7 separate regions of the Homo sapiens genome follow, and regions 1, 2, 3, 4, 6 and 7 are each linked to region 5. The links are contacts of gene promoters, found by promoter capture Hi-C in blood cells and fetal thymus (Javierre and others, 2016). All regions are on one chromosome and are shown on one strand. The core of a region is centred on a gene start or on the middle of the fragment in contact, and the rest is flanking DNA. Distances in the headings are between cores, read along the strand shown.

What was found. Contacts are between HindIII fragments. The CHiCAGO score rates a contact against its expected background, and 5 or more counts as called.
Region 1: a fragment that was not itself captured here is called in contact with the fragment with the promoter of GRM1 in region 5 in 2 of 17 cell types (M2 macrophages and M0 macrophages); the score reaches 7.4 in M2 macrophages.
Region 2: a fragment that was not itself captured here is called in contact with the fragment with the promoter of GRM1 in region 5 in 3 of 17 cell types (M0 macrophages, endothelial precursors and M1 macrophages); the score reaches 7.3 in M0 macrophages.
Region 3: a contact is called between a fragment that was not itself captured here and the fragment with the promoter of GRM1 in region 5, in 1 of 17 cell types (endothelial precursors). The highest score is 8.6, in endothelial precursors.
Region 4: a fragment that was not itself captured here is called in contact with the fragment with the promoter of GRM1 in region 5 in 1 of 17 cell types (M2 macrophages); the score reaches 5.7 in M2 macrophages.
Region 6: a contact is called between a fragment that was not itself captured here and the fragment with the promoter of GRM1 in region 5, in 5 of 17 cell types (M0 macrophages, M2 macrophages, endothelial precursors and 2 more). The highest score is 9.2, in M0 macrophages.
Region 7: a contact is called between a fragment that was not itself captured here and the fragment with the promoter of GRM1 in region 5, in 7 of 17 cell types (M2 macrophages, M0 macrophages, endothelial precursors and 4 more). The highest score is 18.1, in M2 macrophages.

Annotation. Positions count from the first base shown.
Region 1 is chr6:146,722,613-146,725,738 of GRCh38, forward strand. ADGB (androglobin) reads left to right here. Exons shown (of 36, transcript NM_024694.4): 18 at 1,574-1,715. Among named protein-coding and RNA genes, the nearest start is that of ADGB, 130 kb to the left of the region's middle. The HindIII fragment of the contact is 9,478 bases long and covers 1-3,126 here.
Region 2 is chr6:146,768,932-146,772,199 of GRCh38, forward strand. It overlaps ADGB (androglobin), which reads left to right. Exons shown (of 36, transcript NM_024694.4): 29 at 89-200. It overlaps LOC105378040 (a long non-coding RNA gene), which reads right to left and starts at 2,222. Exons shown (of 4, transcript XR_943093.2): 1 at 2,164-2,222. The HindIII fragment of the contact is 2,662 bases long and covers 678-3,268 here.
Region 3 is chr6:146,680,163-146,683,543 of GRCh38, forward strand. All of the region lies in intron 9 of ADGB (androglobin), which reads left to right. Among named protein-coding and RNA genes, the nearest start is that of ADGB, 83 kb to the left of the region's middle. The HindIII fragment of the contact is 1,797 bases long and covers 398-2,194 here.
Region 4 is chr6:146,797,982-146,801,034 of GRCh38, forward strand. The region is part of intron 33 of ADGB (androglobin); the gene reads left to right. Among named protein-coding and RNA genes, the nearest start is that of ADGB, 200 kb to the left of the region's middle. The HindIII fragment of the contact is 4,906 bases long and covers 1-3,053 here.
Region 5 is chr6:146,027,692-146,031,040 of GRCh38, forward strand. GRM1 (glutamate metabotropic receptor 1) reads left to right here and starts at 1,371. Exons shown (of 8, transcript NM_001278064.2): 1 at 1,371-2,526. The coding sequence starts at 1,827. RefSeq lists enhancers at 1,189-1,689, 1,690-2,190. The HindIII fragment of the contact is 3,742 bases long and covers 1-2,963 here.
Region 6 is chr6:146,742,755-146,745,846 of GRCh38, forward strand. All of the region lies in intron 25 of ADGB (androglobin), which reads left to right. All of the region lies in intron 1 of LOC105378040 (a long non-coding RNA gene), which reads right to left. Among named protein-coding and RNA genes, the nearest start is that of ADGB, 150 kb to the left of the region's middle. The HindIII fragment of the contact is 2,674 bases long and covers 145-2,818 here.
Region 7 is chr6:146,702,398-146,705,374 of GRCh38, forward strand. The region is part of intron 13 of ADGB (androglobin); the gene reads left to right. Among named protein-coding and RNA genes, the nearest start is that of ADGB, 100 kb to the left of the region's middle. The HindIII fragment of the contact is 2,666 bases long and covers 307-2,972 here.

The DNA of each region.
Region 1 (3,126 bases), core at 144-2,643, 690 kb after region 5:
CTTATTTATTCCTGTAGATGACCTATTGCAAACCCTCAAACATTCTCTCTCTCTTCAAATCTTCAACACCTACTCTTACTCTCACTCATGTTCAGATGATGACCTTGCTGCTGATCTCACTGAATAGACAGAAGAAATCAGAAAGGATTTCTGCTTTCAGAATTTGTACCTCCCTTTCCCACAATGAACTTTCTCAAAATCTAGGCCACCTTCCTTCTGTTCTAATGGATAGACAATCTCTGCTCCTCTACAAGGCCAAACCCTTGCATACACACGCACACACAGGCACACACTCACAAAACTTCATTCTTTTATTCTTTGGCCTGTTTTGTTAAAGAATTTTTCTTCAGCTCAAATTAACAGTACATGGCACTGTAAATGTACAATAAGTATTTCCCAAATGCTTAATACTGAATGTTTTGTCAACATGCAGGGCAGGGATTTTTTTTAAACTGAAATATCGTCAATGTTTTGAATGGTGTCTAACATAGAGCAGGTGGCTAGAAAATACTTGTTGTATAATAAACTTTCCAAAATTTAGTGATCTAAATTTAGTGCATCTACCAAACCAAAAGCCCTGAAGCCACACCATGTCCCAGAACATTTAAATTCTATAGGCATGAAGGCATTTCAGGTAATGTTGTGACCTTATGTCCTCAACTCCAGTGTTTTCTGGAAATAGGGGGGAAATTATTTTGCCCTCAGTCATTGATGAACAATTAGCCTATATTATTTATCCATTTTTAATAAAAAACTTGATATTAAATTTAAACTTTGTTAATTGCTTGCTATTTCTACATAATGTCAAAGACTGAATCAAAGATAAAAATTTTGATAAACAGGTTGGGCATGGTGGCTCACTCCTGTAATCCCAGCACTTTGGGAGGTTGAGGCGGGCAGATCACCTGAGGTCAGGAGTTCGAGACCAGCCTGGGCCAACATGGTGAAACCCTGTCTCTACTAAAAATACAAAAATTAGCCAGGGGTGGTGGCAGATGCCTGTAATCCCCGGTACTCCAGAGACTGAGGCAGGAGAATTGCTTGAACCCAGGAGGTGGAGGTTGCAGTAAACCGAGATCGCACCACTGCACTTCAGCTTGGGTAACAGAGTGAGAACCCGTCTTTAAAAAATAAATAATTTTTTTGATAAACAGTGGGATATTTGGATTTATTTTTTACACTATTTTAGAGAAATCTCTTATTTTTCAAGATGTAATATGTTTTCTTCCTTTAAAATTGTATCTAGAAGGATATTGTAGTTATTACCATAGAGATAATAAAAGCGATGCTATACTACAATGAAAAATGTCCTCCTGATTCTAATTTTCCTATTCCTGGTTTCTTCACTTGAGAGGATTGTTACAAGGAAGAATATTGAACAGGGAGGAAGACCTAAGTGTTATTTCTAGTAATTTACCTGGAGTAATTTCTAATGTTTTATGAACATTTTAGTAATATTTCTAATGCTTGATTATTGTTATTTATGTTGTTACTTAATAAAAAAAGACAGTACTAGTGAATGCCAACTACACTTTCATGATCAAACTTTAATACCTTTTTACTTATCTTAAAGCCTTAACAAAAGACAGTCCTCCCATAGAGCCTGGACTTCTCACAGCTGAAACGTTTTCTTGGAAATCCCTGAAACCAGGCAGTCTTGTTCTGAAGATTCACACATATGCTACCAAGGCTACAGTGGTTCGTCTGCCTGTTGGGTATGAAGTGGCTTCATTTTTCCCATAATAAAAATTGTTTGAAGGCTTGCAAATTGTTGGTTACTAAAGAAGTAAACAATATGGACTCTAAGACATTGTTTCTCAAAGCAATTTCTCAAGGCATAGGTCCATGATTATTATTCTTGAGAAAAATATTTCCAAAAAACTACATTGAGAAATACTGTACAATGAATATCCCTTTGGGAGATTCATAATTGTCAAAGATTCTGGGAATATATTTAGTCAACAATACTGCTTGAGCTTGTTTAACCCAGCATTTTCTAAAATTAATTTATAAATATTATACACATAACATTTATAATACTTTAGTATGAATTTTCTCATAAATATTTCTTATAAGTTTTCTCACCAATATAATACTTAGCAAAAACCTTGATTTTATTTAAATGCAAATTGAGAAATATGCATTTTCCCCTACCAATCTAGATTTTCTTGTGGCTTATTTTTGTTAGATATTATTTTTAATTCAGATAAAGCTGGTTAAACACATTAGTTTCAATTTTAAAGAAAATACATATAATGGAAAAGATTTTATTTTGATGAATAAAATTCAAAATATTACCTCAAATTTCAGAAGAAATATTTTCACTAGGCTTTGAAATAAACATTTTCACTAGCTTTTACTTTTTTCCCAAGATCAATCATGCTAATTCTATGTGATCAATGAAAAGCTATGTCTCTTATGCAAAAAGCAAAGCCTCAGCAACAAATGCTAAAATAATTGTGTCAAGCATCTAGTACTTCTACAAAATACTACATTTTGAAACTCTGACATTTCTCACATCTCCCCTTTATACTCCAGCAAATCAAATTACTCTGTCTGAGTGCTTATTCATTTGAGACAACCAAGGACAAGGAATTTAATAAAGATTCTTCTTATATCCGCTTTTCCCCCCACAGAACCTAAACCATCAACATGTATGTTTTGAACATGCTCTAAATCTGCAGTCCCCAACTCCAGAGCCATGGACTGGTCCTGGTCCGAGGCCTGTTAGGAACTGGGCCATGCAGCAGGAGGTTAGCGGTGCCTGAGCTCTGCCTCCTGTCAGATCAGCAGCAGCATTAGAGTCTCATAGGAGCGGGAATCCTATTGTGAACTGCATATGCAAGGGATCCAGGTTGGACACTCCTTATAAGAATCTAATGCCTGATGATCTGAGGTGGAACAGTTTCATCCTGAAACCATCCCCAAACCAAGTCCATGGAAATATTGTCTTTTGTGAAACCAGTCCTTGGTGCCAAAAAGAATGGGGATGGCTGCTCTAAATGCTCAATAACTGGAGGACCATGAATATCCCTGCTCTCACGATACGACAACCTGGTAGAGGAGACACGATTAACATACATGAAATGATGCATTTGTGAGAAAAAGACTAGGAAGTCTACACAG
Region 2 (3,268 bases), core at 759-3,258, 740 kb after region 5:
ATTTATCATGTACCTAGCATAATAAATGACATTAGGCACATACCATGTATGTTCTTATCATTTTTAAACACTGCATTTTATTTCACAGAATTACAAGTATATTATACAGTGTTCGGTGTTGTATAACAGTTGGCCTCTCACTGAAAGCCAGCTGACATTTGTTCAAGCACTGAAAGACTTAAAGAAAAGTAATACCAAAGGTATGTCACCCTAAATGTTTAAACATGCACTTTACATTTGAATAAGTTGATATTTAAATATTTAATAATAAATTGATTTAGTCATGAAAATATCATTGTATGATGTTTTATTACACATTATAATTTGTACTCTATATCCTGTTACATTTCCTGTTGTGTTAATTGATTATATGTTTCAATATTTTTACTGCCTGTTTTATAAGGAAAAAATATGATTAGTTAGATGTAATGTAAGCACATTTTGTCTAGTTAATAAAAATTACTAATTGATTATACTTTTGAACATTTCAAAAATGTATGACATTTTTCTATTTATAAAATTATATTTGCCCATATTTTTTGAGAATATATAGCATTAAATACAAGCTTTTAAAATATTTCACAAATTCTTCAATTCCAGAAGAATAATTTTCTAGTGAAAGAGTACTCTGGTTTATTTTTTCAAAATATAAACTACTCTAGTATTCCTGGCCAGGAAGCTTGTTGCTTTCAAAAAAGAGAATCAAAGGGAAATCTCCAACAGCTTTATATCCCATTGGGCAATCTAATAATTGAATCTGAAAGAATGTGTATTTTCTATTTATGTTCTCTTTCAAATTTAAGCTAGATTGCCTAATCATAAAATAATATATGCATGTTATTTTTAAAATAAAATAAACCCATGCAATACAAAAGGGTATAACATAAAATGTAAAAGCCTCCATTTCTTCCTGGGTCCCATTAACCTGAGTTCAAACACTTGATGGTAGCCACCACCGAAGTGGGCTTTGTCATCATTCAGAATTTTTAGTATACATACAACACGCTTATGATAAGACGTAAACTCTTAGTCCTTTTCGTCCTCTAAGAAACAGTAAATTTTATCTATTATTTATATTCCTCTATTAGAATGCAAGCCCCTGAAGAATGAGGAGTTTTGTCCATTTTCACCTGTTTCGTCCCTTGCATTATCCCTAGTTAGATCCCATATGAACAGTAAGCACCCCACAATATTAGCTGAATGAGTAAATGGAAGGATACATGTAAGCTATTCCTATTATTATTACCCTTATTTATTAATTGCCAACAACTCTGTTCAGGCGTTTGCTTGCTTCTATTATCTGCCTGGACCTGATCAAGAAAGAGCTTAAAAAGGTTTGTGTGTACAGAAGTTAAGAGAAAACTGTTATTGCCAGGCTTACTTTATTAGAAGGTATAGATTCTAGTATGTGTCTTAAAATTCAAAGAAAAGCTATAAAAATGTATGACACCAAGAGTTCCCATTTCCACTCAAATGTATTGAGTGTGCTTCCATAGCAACGCATCACACTGCCGAAATTCCAACGGCATCGCACTGTGCGGCCTCTTCTGAGGTTCCTCTCTCATTGGGCAGGGATGTGTTCTTCCTCGGTCTCATCATTGCATCTCTAGCACTAGTGGGAGATGTCAATAAGTGTTTAATGAATGAATGCATGAACATGCCACACCAGTGACCTCAGGTATGTGTAAATCCTAATGGCATCCTGGCCTGCTGTGTGGGCAAGATTCTGAGGCTGTGTTCAGGCTCAACGAGAAAGTTTTGTGATGTTTTATCAATATTCCACGTAGACACAGGAAGAGAAAGTGGTAGCACTGGGGCCACAGAGTCGCCGCCTCTTTGCTGTTCGTGTGTGGTATGTGGATAACTCCAGAGCAGACAATGGGGTGTTCAAACCTTGTTTTTTGAACGAGTGGCTGTGCTACTGCTCCATAGTGTTATACATAAAAACACTTTCGCACATTCCCTGGATAGTCATGGAATATGAATTTTGCCAAAACATCTGCCCATTCTACTTCAACCTCCCCTCCTAAAGCCAACACCCCTAACAGCCCAGCACACTGAGAATGTCTGAAACAGCAGACAAGGCTTCGATCTCATATTCTTGCCTACTAGAAGAGAACACAATTATTCTGTGAGTAAATGTCATATGAAAGCCGCAAATACCTTGCAGGCCACGTCTCAAGCCGAATACGCCCGAATACGCCTGTTGATTCCCTTGTTGTGGTTGCACAGGCGGTTGGCTTTGGCAATCACTTCCTTGCAGCTTGTTCCCGGATGCTGTGTTTCCGGCCCAGTTCCCTTCTCTGGGTCTTCAGCTGTGAAGGTTTCCTGGACCCACCTAATGTTGCCTAACCCTGTGTTATGGATTATCTACTGCTGTGAATTTGAGCCCTTTGATTATTTTGCAGTTGACCACCCACACCCACCAAGTTCTAATGGAAAATAAATGAAAAAAAAAAATCAGTTGTTTATGTTTATTTCTCTTTGCATGTTACCATATTCTCTTTCTCTATATGTTTTTCCCGTCAGGTTGCCACTTTTGTTCTCGCTTAAAGTAACCATTACCCTATTCCTACTTCCCCTGTGGTTCAAAGCAAAATCTCTTAGCTCATACCGTGCCCCCGCCCCTGGCCCCTGGCCCCCACCATTCTCTGTCTTCTTTTTCTCTATCAATTAACAGAAACCTGTTTGAAATAATGGATGGTACAAATCATGTGGTAATTTTGTGTTCCCCTACTGCAAAGAAGTAGATAGAGTATATGCCTAATACCAGTGGAATTAAATATTTTATGCTAAAGATTTAAGTGCAAATAAAATATTCACAATTATAGAAATCAAAGAATAAAGAAACAGCACAGTTTTGTATGAGCTTGTGTGTTCACCAAAGCTATTCTCATTTCCACTTTGTTCTTCAAGTTATAGGACTGGTAGATTTTACATTACATTTCTGAGGATTAAGAATTTCAATGGATCAGAGAATGACAGCCAGTTCTGATTTGTTTTGTTTTGCTTTTTGTTTTGGACAGTGTGGGCTTTTTCATGAGTTGCCTGTAACTCTTTATAATTCTGATTTCTGTATTATAATAGCGTGTTATACCTGTCTCAATAAGCTCAAAATAGTCATGCTACTGTTGTTTATAGCAATTATAAATTATAAACCCAGATCCATATGACAGAAAACAAATAATCTCATCATAAATCATAAAAGGAAAACTACAGAGCAACCTTGCTGAATTCAATTGAAGATCTTGCTCACAAGGAAAACCTG
Region 3 (3,381 bases), core at 46-2,545, 650 kb after region 5:
TGTATAATTTCTAGCCCACAGGATGTGAAGCAAAGCGATACATACCAGCTGTAGACTGACCTATACCGTGCTCTCAATTACAATTCCCTTTTTGCTAGCTCAATGCTGTTGAGAGCACAGTGTTAAAGATGGCAAAGCCACAAGGATGGACAGAGCAGGAGTATGTGAATCACTACCTGGAGATCTGCCTGCTGGTCAAGAAGGTTCATTTTGTACTTTATATGAACAAAAAGAAACTATATCATGTTTAAGTCATTTTTTAGTGTGTTCCTTATAGCAGCTACAATTACCTCATGATAAATTAACTCCTGCCAGAAGTTGAGTACTAATAACAAGGTGAAAATATGTGGTGTCTGCTTAACAGTAGAGTAGAAGGCAGTGAATAAATGGTATCTCAAGCTTGAGGAAACCTGGAGATCTCCCTCATACAGCAAAATATTTGGTAAAACTGGAACCTGCGACAATTTAGAAGTTAGCCATGTACTCAGTGAACCTGAGTCTCTAAAATAAGTGGTTGAAAATCTGCTATTCTAGGCAGTGTTAAGTTTGTAATATCTACTGTTAGCAAGATATTTCAAATAAGAAATGAGTTCAGGGAAGAATTGTCTGTTTTTCCAAAATAAATGGGAAAAATAGAGAAATTTCTGAGATCACAGAACATACAAAATTGAAAAAGAAGGCTATTTCTTTACCACAATTAATTGGAGATAAGGCTGGTGTTGAAGAGAGCCATGCTCCTCCCTTTTTATGCCTCCTATACTCTAGCATGTGAATTCTAAAGTTCTATACCAGTGGGAAGTAAAAGAGCTTGGAGGATTGCAGGTGCAAGGTGTTTGAAGTAAAAACAAGCTGTACTGTTTATCACTTCTGGTCTCATTCTATTGAAGACAATTCAATTTCATGGCCATACCTAAGTATTTAACAACAAAAGTCCAGGATATATTTTGGATATTTGTCCTCGCCCAAACTTCATGTTGAATTGTAATCCCCAGTGCTGGAGGTGGAGCCTGGTGGGAGTGGACCTGAAGGCAGATCCCTCATGGCTTGGTGCTGTCTTCATGACAGTAAGTTCTTGCAAGATCTGGTCGTTTAAAACTGTGTAACATCTCTCCCTACTCTCTTGCTTGCTCCCATTCTCACCATGTGAGACATCTGCTCCCTCTTTTGCCTTCTGCCATGAGTAAAAGCCCCCTGAGGCCTCCCCAGAAACAGATACCAGATCTAGGCTTCCTGTACACCCTGCAGAACCATGAGCCAATTAAACCTCTTTTCTTTATAAATTATCCAGTCTCAGGTATCTCTTTATAGCCATGCAAGTATGGCCTAATACAGTCCAGTAAAACTTAAACAACACACCTGGTTGTGTCAAAGATTAAGACTGCAACCTCTTTGTTGCAGCTATCTTCAAAGTGGCCTCTATGAAGCAAAGAAGCAAAGAAGTAAATTAGCCTTGGGAATTACACTCAAGAAAGAATATGGACATGTGGAACTGATGAAAGAAATAGATTAGAAGCCCACTAATATATATTATTTTAAAACTTGTATTAAGAAATTATGGACTTGGTATAAAAAGTCTTTTACTTTTCAGCTTTGCATCAAATATTGGACCTGCAAACATTGTCTGGTAGGAAGTGGGCCGGAACACATTCGAGTCATTATCCTCTTTAGATATTGCCACATAGAATCATAGACAATAAAAAATTGCCAGAAAGACCAGGGACTACTTTACACTTCACACTTCTTAATTGTGTAGTGGACATGTTACTTAACCTATCCGTAACTCAGTTTACTTGCCTGAAAAATACTGTTAAAAATAGAATTTATTTCATAGGGTTTATGTGAACTGACTCATATGAAATACCTAGGCCTTAGCACAGAGTAGGCATTCACTGAAAGTTAGCTATTCTAAATTAACTAAATATCACATCTGAAAAAAATCATATATAATCTTTAACAAATACTTCTTATGGATTTATAGTAATTTGGGGTTCATCTCACTGGGACTCAAAATTTCAGGCTGAAATTTTTATAGGTTCAGACAGTAAATGTCTAACATAAAATGAAATCAATGATAAAAGTGGTATTTAAGTAATCTTACGTATTTTATAGCAGTCTTCTGAAATATGCTTATAGAAAGCAAAAAAAGCTGTATCACATGTAAAATAAAACATTTAAATCATACAAATGTAGCAAAAGCTTCTTTTGAGCAATAAAATACATATAATTAGTATGGCAGTTGTAGGCCATATAAGACTCATAATTACTGTACAAAATATTTTAAGGCAGTTTTAGAGACTAGGATGTTAAATTTCATTTCATCATTCAAGAGTATATTTTTTCTTAAATTTCTTTCTCAATTATTAAGCATTATTATATGCAGCTGTGCTAATTCAATACAAAGTTACTCCAACAACTGGAAAGATAAGGAAATTTCATGGTCTGTACCATTCATAGTTCACTGAAAGAAATTATAGAGCCCCTAGATTTAAACATTTGCCTTTAAGATATTCTAAAAGCAGTTTTATTGATATATAATAAAATCAAAATGCATTATGGGTGTTCCAATATTGCAGAATCACACAACATATTTACAGAGAGATAATAGAACAAATAGGAATTATCTAAGGCCCTTTAGACCCTTTACAAATAATTCTTATATTTTCTTGGCTAATAAACTTTTTTGAAAATCTTATGAAAATTTTGAACCTTCTCTCTTTTTTTTCCAAATCCTTTGTAGTCTTGGTTGAATGTGTCTTCTGGAGTCCATGTGCTAGAATTTTGATCCCCAATGCAACCATATTGGGAGGTGGGGCCTAATGAGAGGTAATTAGGCCATGAGGACAGAGGGAATGGATTAATGCCATTATCATGGGAGTGGTTAGGTATCCCAGGTGTGGGTTTGTTATAAAAGGGTGAGTTTGGCTATGGGATGACATGCTTATTTGGCCAGGGGATGACACAGCAAAAAGTTCCTCACCAGGCGCCAGCACCTTGATCTTGGACTTCCCAGCTTCCAGAACTGTGGGGAAATAAACTTCTGTTCTTTAAAAGTTACCCAGTCTCAGGTATTTCATTTTAGCAGTACAAAACAGACTAAAGCAGTTAGTGTGCACACAGATCTGCAGTGTTACATAATAGTTCACTGAGTTCTGGGCCCCTGAATCTCATTTATAAGATGTATAAAACTTAGTTTGAAAATCCCTATTTAATAGCACATTCCTATCCAGCTTTTACAGATTGATATTTAGTTAATAGCACCAGTATAGTGATACCAATATTTATAATCAGCTTCTAGTTTAATTAATCTGTGCCCATGCTATACCACTTATTAAATATTTAAAACTTCACCCTTAACTAAACACTTGTGTTATTTTTTAATAT
Region 4 (3,053 bases), core at 87-2,586, 770 kb after region 5:
TTGGATAGAAAGTAATAAAGTAGGCCTAAAGAAAGAAGGAATAAAAAAATTTTAATGAGACAGAAAACAAAGGAAATAAAGAAAATTCATAGAAATTAAGGCAAATTTAAACACATTCACAATAAACAAGCACTTGTTTGTGCTTACTTGATAATTTGTTTCCAGATGATCTGCCTTAAAACAAATACAAAAGGAAGTCCTTCAGGCTGAAAGAAGGTGACATCCAAAGGGAATTCACATTCACAAAGAAAGGTAATTATGTAGGTAAATTTTAGAAGACAACGTAAATAGATTTTTCCATTTGTTTACTTATTTAACAATTATTATAAAACTATATTGTTGGGCTTATAATGTACAAACATATATAAAAATAATGCACGAACAGTGGGAGAAAGAACAAAGAAAGAAACTCACAACAAACTGGTAATACAAGCGGATTTCCTCAGACCGATAAAGGCTAGTTATGAAAAACCTACGGTAAACATCATACTTAAAGGTGAACAACTGAATAATTTTAGCCTAAGGTCAAGAACAAGGCAGGATGTCTACTGTAACCACTTACATTCCACATTTTAATGGAGGTTCTTGCTAGTTCAATCAAGAAAGAGAAATAAAACACATCAATCTTAGAAACGAAGAAGTAAAACTGTATTCTCCGACAACACTCTCCTATATGCTAAACTTCTAAAAAACAGAAAAAAAAAAAACTGTGAATAAGTGAGTTTGGCAGGGTCACATGATGTAAGATTAGTAAACAAATCATTTTTATTTCTACATATTGATGAACAATCAAAATTGAAATTAAGACAGTTTTATTCACAACAGCATCAATAATAAATACACGGAAATAAATTTAACCAAGTGTAGAATTTATGTATTGAAAACTACAAAACATCACCAAAGGAAATTTTAAATTATCTAAATATAGAGATCATTTATGTTTTGGACTATAAGACCTATTGTTCAGATAGTAATACCCCTCAAATTGATCTATAAATTCAGTATAATCTCTATCAAAATCACAGTAGACATTTTACAGAATTTGACATGCTAATCCCAAAACTTATATGGAAATGCAAAAAAAAAAAAAAAAAAAAACAGAAAAGCCAAAATAATTTTGAAAAAGAAGATCCAAGTGGGAGGGGAACTTACTCATCCTGATAAAGACTCTACAAAAAAACCTATGGCCTACATTTTATTAATGGCGAGGAATTAGCAGCTTTCCCACTAAAATCAGGAGCAAGCCAAAGATGTCCTCTCTTACCACTCTTTTTCAACATGTACAAGACTCCTAGAAAATACAGTCAGACAAGGAAATGAACTAAAAAGATACACTAACTGGGAAGAAAGAAAGAAAACTCCTGACCAACGTGATGAAACTGTCTCTACTAAAAATACAAAAATTAGCTTGGCGTGGTGGCACGTGCCTGTAATCCCAGCTACTTGGGAGGCTGAAGCAGGAGAATCGCTTGAACCAGGGAGGCGGAAGTTGCAGTGAGCCAAGATCGCGCCACTGCACTCCAGTCTAGCAACAGAGCAAGACTCTGGGGGGAGAAAAAAAAAAAAAAAAAAGGAAGGAAGGAAGGAATGCAGGCAGGCAGGGAGGGAGAGAGGGAGAGAGGGAGGAAGGGAAGAAAGGGAGGGAGGGAGGGAGACTGTATTTGTTTGCAGATAGTGTGATTTTGAATATATGTACCACTCTGGTAGGGGATGTTAATAATGGGGGAGGCTACAATGTGTGTGTAGGAGGAAGGGGGATATGGGATATCTCTGTATGTACTTCCTCTCAATTTTACTGTGAAACGTAAAACTGTTTCTTTTGTTGTTGTTGTTGTTGTTGTTTTCTGAGACAGAGTCTCACTCTGTCGCCCAGGCTGGAGTGCAATGGTGCGATCTTGGCTCACTGCAACTTCTGCCGCCCGGGTTCAAGCGATTCTCCTGCCTCAGCCTCCCGAGTAGCTGGGATTACAGGCAGCTGCCACTGTGCCCAGCTAATTTTTGTATTTTTTGTAGAGATGGGGTTTCACCATCTTGGTCGGGCTGGTCTTGAACTCCTGACCTCGTGATCCACCCGCCTTGGCCTCCCAAAGTGTTGGGATTACAGGCGTGAGCCACCGCGCCCGGCCCTAAAACTGCTCTTAAAAATAAACTTTTTTCTTTTTTTTTAAATGAACCAAGCAGGGAGATTTTTACTATGTAATTTCAAAATTGGTCATAAAGTTAAAAATAATGATCAAAACACCGTGGTTTGACACTTTCTTTGAAAGTTGAAGAATTTTACCATATGACCCAGTAATCCACTCCTACTTACATAAAATGTCCAGGAAAGACAAATCTGTAGAGACATAAGTAGATTAATGATTGCCCGGAGTTTGTGGTGAGAACACAAAGTGACTATTATAGGACACAAGAGAGATCTTATTTGGATGATGAAAATGTTTTAAAACTGGATTTTGTTGATGGTCACACAACTTGGTAAATTTACTAAGAAGTATTGAATTAGAACCTTAAAATGGTTGAATTTTATATGTGTAAATTATACTTCAGTAGCTTTTTTTTAAAAAAAAAGCAGTGGTCTGGAAATGCTGAAAAGTTAATATCCTAGACTCAAGTCTTTTAAATCTGTTCTTGTGGGCTCGATACTGTTCTATGGATTAAAAAGCTGCTGCTAATTTGATTTTCAGTGTTTATCTTTTATATATTGCCTACTCCACTGGACTACAAGTTTATTGAAGGTAAAATACTGTTTTCAGTATTTCAGTATAAATATGTAAAAAAAATCTATTTATATCCCAAGCCCGGTAGTACTTAGTGTAGCATTTGGGCAAAGCCCAATCTCATTAAATACTGGGCCATTTAACTTGTTTGTAATGAAATTTTGTAACTTAACATAAGACTTGTTCTTATTAATGGAGACTAATTCTCCTCCATTTAACTGTGATTAGAATAGCATTTTTTAAATTTTTCATTTTTGTCATCTCCCTCATTTAACTAAAAGCATAGTAACACCAGCTAGAGGATAAACAAAATATAAGCATATAATTATATATATT
Region 5 (3,349 bases), core at 121-2,620:
TGCACCGTCTGGATTAGAGCTGAGGCGTCTGCAAGCCGAGCGTGGCCACGGTCCTCTGGCCCCGGGACCATAGCGCTGTCTACCCCGACTCAGGTACTCAGGTATGTCTCAAGTCCATGTCCTCCAAACAGACTCAGGTGAGCGGACACTTCCTCCGGTGAAACCCACCCACAACGGCAGACAAAGTCCCAGTCTATCAGATTTTCCTCCGGGTCCCAGGCGCATTCTCGCTTATGTATTTCTTTTCGTCCTGTATCCTCAGGAAGAGTCGGGACCAATGGGTGCCTGGGTTTTCTTTCTCCTTTTTCTGCCTCACCTCCTGTGCTCTCCTCGCCCGCTCCCATAGCCCCCTTTTCGTCGACTCTCACCTTGAGAAAAGGAGCAGGGGAGGAACGGGAGAGGGAGCCAACTTCAGCCCCGCAGGCGGCTGAGATTTGGCGCCTCTGTCCCCAAGCGGGTGGGTTTGGATATATACCTGCACAAGCGGTGCAAGGTGATGAGAATGAGGGCGGAGGGGCGGTGGGGACTCGAGTGGAAGGGAGTGTGTGTGTGTGTGTGTGTGTGTGTGTGTGTGTGTGTGTGTGTGTATGGGTAAAGAACTCAGAGGAGGGAGGTTGAAAGAGCAAAGCGGGTCAGGGAATTGCAACTCACTGGTCAAAGCGTCCCTTGCAGGCCCTGCCAGGGAATGTCTGGCTGGACCGAGCACTGTCCAGGGTCCTGAAGGCGGCAGGGCTCAGGCTGCCGCGGCGAGAGCAACCCGGAAGCTCCCCTCCGTTCCCTTTCTAGCAACTATGCAAACCCCAAAGCAAGCGCAGGACCCCCCCTAACCCGTCCACCCACCGCGGGAAACAAGTTACCTTATCTGCACCCCTTCTTCTTGAACATACACAGCAAGCCTGACTTCTTACGGGGGAAACATACCAAACTCCTCCATACGGAGACTTTACCAGGCGTTGCCTTAGTAACTAATGTGGATTTTCTTCAAGCTGGCAAATTTATATTTACAGCTGATTTTATGTCAGGGCTTCTTCAACCCCTCAAAATTAAAGTAAAAGGTGCATCCTTTGTTTACGTTTATTTTAAAGTCGCGCTTCCACCTTTACAATGAGTTTCCAAATTTTCTTCTGAAAAAAAGTTGATCTTTTCCAATCCGGAAAGTTCTCTTGGGTTGAAGGACCTAGCTCCTCCCCTCCTCTCTGCTCACCTTCCCCACCGCCCTCCAAGTTAGAAAGCATGATAGGTTTTAGGGGACCAGGAAACGACTTAAGGTTGGAGGAGCGGGCGAGTTGGCGGGGCTCTGCGCCGCCTGGACCCGTGAGGACAGAGGGGGCAGGACACCCCGCCTTCCTCAGTGACCACAGCTGCGCTCCAAGCTGTTCCTGCAGCCGATATCAGGATGTGCCGAAATGAAACGGACAAGGCAACTGTTAACATTATAGACCCCAGAGTTTTAACACAGGTCCTCTGATGACAAGGTTGTGATTTTTCTCTGTCTTTTGTCAGCAGCATCTAGCTCACCGCTGCCAACACGACTTCCACTGTACTCTTGATCAATTTACCTTGATGCACTACCGGTGAAGAACGGGGACTCGAATTCCCTTACAAACGCCTCCAGCTTGTAGAGGCGGTCGTGGAGGACCCAGAGGAGGAGACGAAGGGGAAGGAGGCGGTGGTGGAGGAGGCAAAGGCCTTGGACGACCATTGTTGGCGAGGGGCACCACTCCGGGAGAGGCGGCGCTGGGCGTCTTGGGGGTGCGCGCCGGGAGCCTGCAGCGGGACCAGCGTGGGAACGCGGCTGGCAGGCTGTGGACCTCGTCCTCACCACCATGGTCGGGCTCCTTTTGTTTTTTTTCCCAGCGATCTTTTTGGAGGTGTCCCTTCTCCCCAGAAGCCCCGGCAGGAAAGTGTTGCTGGCAGGAGCGTCGTCTCAGCGCTCGGTGGCCAGAATGGACGGAGATGTCATCATTGGAGCCCTCTTCTCAGTCCATCACCAGCCTCCGGCCGAGAAAGTGCCCGAGAGGAAGTGTGGGGAGATCAGGGAGCAGTATGGCATCCAGAGGGTGGAGGCCATGTTCCACACGTTGGATAAGATCAACGCGGACCCGGTCCTCCTGCCCAACATCACCCTGGGCAGTGAGATCCGGGACTCCTGCTGGCACTCTTCCGTGGCTCTGGAACAGAGCATTGAGTTCATTAGGGACTCTCTGATTTCCATTCGAGATGAGAAGGATGGGATCAACCGGTGTCTGCCTGACGGCCAGTCCCTCCCCCCAGGCAGGACTAAGAAGCCCATTGCGGGAGTGATCGGTCCCGGCTCCAGCTCTGTAGCCATTCAAGTGCAGAACCTGCTCCAGCTCTTCGACATCCCCCAGATCGCTTATTCAGCCACAAGCATCGACCTGAGTGACAAAACTTTGTACAAATACTTCCTGAGGGTTGTCCCTTCTGACACTTTGCAGGCAAGGGCCATGCTTGACATAGTCAAACGTTACAATTGGACCTATGTCTCTGCAGTCCACACGGAAGGTAGGCATTATATTTGGGAAAGAAGGGTACTGAGAAAGTCAGGGCAATGCATGATGTGCTCCTGGGATCATAGTATTGTTCCTGTTTATTTCTAGCACTGTGGGGAACGGAGTTTACCCTTCTCAGTACTGCCCACCCAGGCATTGCCTTTTATCCTCATTTCCTTACAATTATAGTGTAGGAAAATTGTACCCCATAGAATATCTGAGGATAATAGGAGCTGAAAGGGTATCAAACTTTCCATGCAAAGTGTCCAGCAGTAGATTTGACTTGAATACTTGTTTGCCCTCATATTTTGAGTTTGCGTTTGGAAGGCTTATTTGTCCAAGGTGTTATATTGCCCTTCAGTGACTGGCTATGACTTTCCAGGTGTAATGAGTTAATTCAGTGTGAGTGATTGGCAAAAAGAAGTTACTATTCCACAAATAGGACTTCAAAGCTTTATCTTTCTTTAACAGTTGAAGATTTTCTTTGTCCTCTTGTACCCCTTCTTACATATCCAAAACTTTCCTGTGAATGTAGGATTAATGCAGTCATCTCCCTCAGTATATCAGAAACTTATATTTTTACTTCTGGAGTACCTTAGTTACAAAGAAAAAGTAAGTAATTTAAATAATGTATTTTCTTCTTACTTTATAGGCTAAAATCATCCAGATTCCCTCACTCCCCCAAGAATTATCTTGTTTTATGAGAAATAACACTGGTGACCACTTGGATTTGAGTTTTGGTTTCTAGTCTTTTTTCTTCTAACACAATGAACTTACATATTAGAATTAAAGTTAGATCAGTTATAAAATACTAATGAATGGATAGCAGATATTAG
Region 6 (3,092 bases), core at 232-2,731, 720 kb after region 5:
ATAAATGATATCTCTAAACCAAGCTTGTCCAACCTGCGGCCCATAGGCTGCGTGCTGCCCAGGGTGACTTTAAATATATCCCAACACAAATTCGTAAACTTTCTTAAAACACTATGAGATATTTTTGTGATTCTTTTTTTTTTAAGCTTCTGAGTTTAGTTAGTGTTAGTGCATTTTATGCATGGCCCAAGACAATTCTTCCACTGTGGCCCAGGGAAGCCAAATATTGGAAACCCCTCCTCTAAACCTGACCTTTCTGCAGCAGAATGCCTTGGGTTAAACCAAACTACAGAGCTAGTTCTTCACGAACAAATTTGTCCACACACCAGTAGATGATTTTTTGAATGTTTGTTTTTAAAGTTTGAGTTAGACTTCCTTTTGAATAGAAACAGTTTATTTAATTTGTGATTAGAATTCAAAAGTCACAAAGATTAAGAGGAAGAAGATGATTTAATTTAAAGGGAGACTATCAAGGTTATAGATGTCATCAAATTCTAGCAATGAATTTTGTATTACTAGATAAATATACTAATGCTAGTCTTGAATACTTCATTTTGGAAGAGACCTTTAAAGAATATTTGGTTGAACCAAGTACGAATCTGATTATTATTTACATCTAGCATACCTCCTTGGGTTGGGATGGGTTTGGTTTTTGTTTTAGAAACTCCATTGTAGACATCCCTCTCTAGATTAAACTTGAATTTTTCGGATAGTTCTAAGTGATACATTTTGAGTCAACGTTCAGAAGAACATTCCAGCTCCACTTAACTATTATTTTTAAGTTGTAAATTGAGATTGCAGCAAACATACTTCCTGTCTCATATTTTATCTCTTCTGCCCTCTCACTCTAGCCAGCTCTGTTTAGAAAAAAAGTTAAGGCCGGGCGCAGTGGCTCATGCCCATAATCCCAGCACTTTGGTAGGCCAAGGTGGGTGGGTCATCTGAGGTCAGGAGATCGAGACCAGCCTGGCCAACACGGCAAAAGCCTGTCTCTACTAATAATACAAAAATTAGCCAGGCGTGGTGGCGTGCGCCTGTAGTCCCAGCTACTAGGGAGGCTGAGGCAGGAGAATCACTTGAACCCAGAAGACAGAGGTTGCAGTGAGCCGTGATCACGCCACTGCTTTCCAGCCTGGGTGACAAGAGCGAAACTCCATCTCCAAAAAGAAAAAAGTTAAAAGTGGAGAAATGCGGAGGAGTATGTCAAGCTGTGTGAATAGAAAAAGAGCTTAATTGGACCCTTTTGTGCTGCAGTTTTCCTCTCTTCATAATTCTTGATCTTTGAACATTTATCCAAACAACCTTTGTCCCTGCTAAAATGTGGTTCCCAGAACTGAATGCTGCCTCTGAAAGTAATTCTGACCCACAAAACATAAAGAGGTTCATTGCTCCATTGTTTTGTACCCTGTGATTGCATCAGTCTTTGGGTACCTACAAGGCATGTTGATATGGTGGACTCAAGAGACACCTCAAGAGAGAACATCTTTGGCCGACTAGATAATGTCTAAAACTGTATTGAGCAGTTGTATAACTTAGCAATCTTAGGTGGGAATTTTGTGGCTAATTCTGCCCAGCAGGCTCATCCAGAGGCATCCTGACCCATACGAAATTCACCAGAGGCCTTGACATATGCCTGCCCGAAATTCATAAACACCATGTATGCAACTTTTACCTGATGTTGTGTCTTCTAATCTTATGAAAAAAGTAAATAAGTTTTGTTTCCAATAAACTCATGCTGGCTTTAAGAATAGGTTTTATCTTTGAGGTTCACATGAGACATGCTTTTTATGAGCTGCGGCAGAACTTTGATAAGCACTATTATTAAACTTACTAATCTGTGGTTTGCAGAGTATATATTCTTCTTAAGTTTGAAAAATCAGAATTGTTTGCTCTATTTTTTTTCATAAATACTCAAGACCATACACTGTAATTCAGAATACTAGTCTGTGGGATTCCTCGATACTCAGTACTCGATTATATAAATGTTTTACTACTGAATCCATTTAGAATAGCCAAGTTCTGTCCTATAATCCTATCACTGATTTAGCTTTGGATTTTCACTTACCAATATCTAATCCCACCATTTAATAACTTTTTCCTTTATAATCATTCTGAGTCTGAGCAAAAACAAAATAATTTTGCTTTGCCTCTTTAATTCAGTAGTACAATGAACTCAAATAATAATAAAAATATCAATACATATGTGCATTACCCTTTGCCAGTAAAAATGCTTTATTATACATTTTTTTTACTTGCCCCAAACATGATGTCATAAAGTCCTTACTGGTGTTGCAATTCTCATCTCATTATGGGGACTGGAATTCCAGCTAATATTTCTAGATGTGTATGAAACTTTTAAAAAATTCATTCTGGCTTATATATATCTAATTTTTACTTCTGGAAATCTAAACATACCAGAGAGCTATTTGTGGGCAGAGTACAGCTGGAAGACAAATCTATCTTTTTATTCTTTATTAGGGGCATCTGGAATTATAATCTCAGAATTACTTTGAACATTTGCATCTATTATGATATCATGCTTTTGATTCACTGACTTTTTAGTCAGCTATCCAATTATGTTAAACCAAGCTCTTCCCCATCATAAAGTAAGCCATTCCCAGGCTCTTGAGCTGCTCCTTTTCTGCAATCTAAAGAGCTCATCCTCAATCACACATCTGGGTTCTGTGGAATCAAATCAGCTATTAATTTTACAGTTTTACCTGTCATGTCAACAGAATACATTTCTTTGAACTCTTCTGCTTTTCTTACTTCAGTATTCCAGAAAGATAGATCTGGGTTACAGGAAAATCAAGTAAGAAGCTTTTGGGCTACTCTGGGATGGTGCAATGATAAAAATCTGCCATGGGAGGCATTAGAAGAATTAGAAGAGGACATAGTAATCATCTATTGTAGTTAAGCACTTTATTTTATAGTTAAGGAACCACACAAAGGAAAATATCAGAGTTTATTATTTTCCTGAAAACTTTGTAGGATAGTGCTTTCTAAGAGAAATTCCAAACATAATCCTAGTGATTCTATGTTTATTAAGAGATCTTGGGACCTGTAGGTATATCATAATAATAAGACATTTA
Region 7 (2,977 bases), core at 390-2,889, 670 kb after region 5:
GGTTGCTATTTTTGGAATTTGAAAAATCAGACCTTGGCAATGACCTTGAACAGTAGGATGCTGAGCTTTCCAATGTAAAACAAATGTAAAGAAATCTTGCCTCCATTTATGTACCTCTCTATCCCATTTTCACCATTCTGCCCTCCGTAGGAAACTTTCAGGATTTTTTAATGTAAATGCAAAGAAACACACACACAATATTTCACAACTTCCTTTTTTTCTACTCAAAATTAAATAATCTTAAAAATACTTAATATATGCTGGAGATAATTCCAATCTACACCTAAAGAGTATCTTCATTCTTAAAGCTTCATAATTTTTTATTATGTAAATGAACTGTAGTTTATTTCTATCAATCTCTATAGATGAAATCTTGGGTTGATTTTAATCTTTTGCTATTATAAATACTACTGCTATGAATGAATTTGTACATGTAGTTGGATTGTTTGGCCAACAAATACAATTCTATTGGAATTTTAAAATAATTATTGCTAAATATACACGATAAGATTACACCCAGGTTGTATGAATATTTCCTTATAGCCACATGGAGTGTGTAGGGATTTTTTAAAAATTTTGCCAATCAGATTGGTAAGAAAAAGTAGTTCATTTTGCTTTTCCATTGAACTGGTTGTTATTGTGACTGAACAGCTTTGTATACATTTACTGCCATTTCTGTTTGTGCTGCTGTGCAATGCCTGCTTATGTCTTTTGCCTAATTTCCATTTGGGTTGTATGTTCCTATTTTACCAATTCATAGATGTTCTTTGTGAAATATGGAGACTTATTCTTTATTAGATATGTATTTCATATGTTCTAAGTTTATCTTTTCAATCTTGTCTTTTTAAAATTTATTTTTAATCGATAAAAAATATATGCATTTATAGTGTAAAACATGATGTTTTGAAATATATATATAGCTGAATAACTAAATTGAGCTGATTAATATATGTATTACTTCACGTTCCTTTCATTTTTTGTTGTGAGAACACTAAAATCTTCTGTCTTATCAATTTTCAAGAATACATTAACTATAGACCCCGTGTTGCAAATCAGATCTCTTGAATTTATCTCTACTAACTGAAACTTTGTATCCTTTGACCAGTATTTTCCCAATCACCCACATCTAGCCCCTGGTAACTACCATTCTACTTAGTATCTATTTTTCTGTGTGTGGCTTATTTAACTTCACATAAGGTCCTCCAGGTTTATCCTAGTTATTGCAAATGATAAAGTTTCCTTCTTTTTAAAGGCTGAATAGTATTCTATTTTGTATATATACCATATTTTCCTTATCCATTCATCTGTGGATGGACAATTAGTTTGATTTCATATTTTGGCTTTGTGAATAATGCTATAATGAAGATGGGAAGGCAGGTATCTCTTTCTTCTTTGACACACTGATTTCATTTCCTTTGGATACACACTCAGAAGGAGGATTGCTGGATCACATGATTGCCCTATTTTTAGTTTTTTTTTTTCAACCTCCATACTGTTTTCTACAGTGGCTGCACCATTCTACCTTCTCACCAGCAATATACAAGGTTTCCCTTATTTCCACATTCTTACTAACACTTATTTTTGTATTCTCGATAACAGCCATTTTAACAGGTGTGAAGTGATATCTCACTGTGGTCTTAATTTATGTTCCTCTGATGATTAGTGATGTTGAGCATTTTTTAAAACACATACGTTGGCCATTTGTATGTCTTCTCCTGAGAAATGCCTATTCAGATTCTTCGCTCATTTTTCAATTGGGTTGTTTCCTTGATGATGAGTTGTTTGAGTTCCTTATATGTTTTGAATATTAACCTCTTATCAGATGTATGATTTACAAATATTTTCTCCCATTCTATAGATTGTCTCCTTATAATTGCTTCCTTTTCTGTGCAAAAAAAAAAAAATTTAGTTTGATGTAATTCCTTCTGTCTGTTTGCAATTGTTGCCTGTGCTTTAGGGATTATTTCTTAAAACTTGTTGCCCAGGCCAAGTTCTTGGAGCTTATCCCTTATGTTTTCTTCTAATAGTTTCATACATTCAGCATACATTCAGGTCTTAAAGTTAAGTTCTTAATGCATTTTGAGTTAATTTTTGTATATGGTATGAGGTGACATTCCTCTTTTGTAAATGGATATCCCAAAATCATTTACTGAAGAGACTCTCCTTTCTTCCATTGTGTGTTCTTGTCAATCTTTTTCGACCATAATAGTTTGAATTTATTTTTGACTCTCTACTCTGTTCCATTGGTCTATTTTTATGGTGATATATGCTGTTTGGGTTACTATAGCTTTGTAGTGTATTTTGAAGTCAGGTAGTGTGATGCCTCCTGCTTTGTTCTTTTGCTTTAGCTATTTAGGGTCTTTTGTGGTTTCACATGGATTTTAGGATGTTTTTAATATATCTGTCTAAAATCTCATCAGAATGTTGGTAGATTACATTGAATCTGTACATTGCTTTGGCTAGTATGTGAAAAATCTCATCAGAATGTTGATAGATTACATTGAATCTGTACATTGCTTTGGCTAGTACAGCCATTTTAACAATATGAATTCTTTCAGTTCATGAACATGGGACATCTTTCCATTTATTTGAGTCTTATTTTATTTCATCAATGTTTTATTTTATAGTATTCAGAATATAGGTACCTCCTTAGTTCAATTTATTCCTAAATATGTTTTGGTAGCTATTGTAAATGGAATTATTTTACTGATTTCTATTTTTGTTTTTTGTATGTTGATTTTGTATCCTGAAACTTTATTGAGTTTATATATTAGATCTAACAGGATTTTTAATGGGGTTTTAAGGGGTTCTATATATGATTGTATTATCTGAAAAGAGGAAAAATTTAGCTTCTTTCTTTCCAATTTGAGTGCCTTTTCTTTATTTTGCCTAATTGCTCTAGCTAGGACTTTAGGTGATATGTTGAATAGAAGTGGTTATTTTCCTTGTCTTACTCCTGATCTTAGAAGTAAAGCTT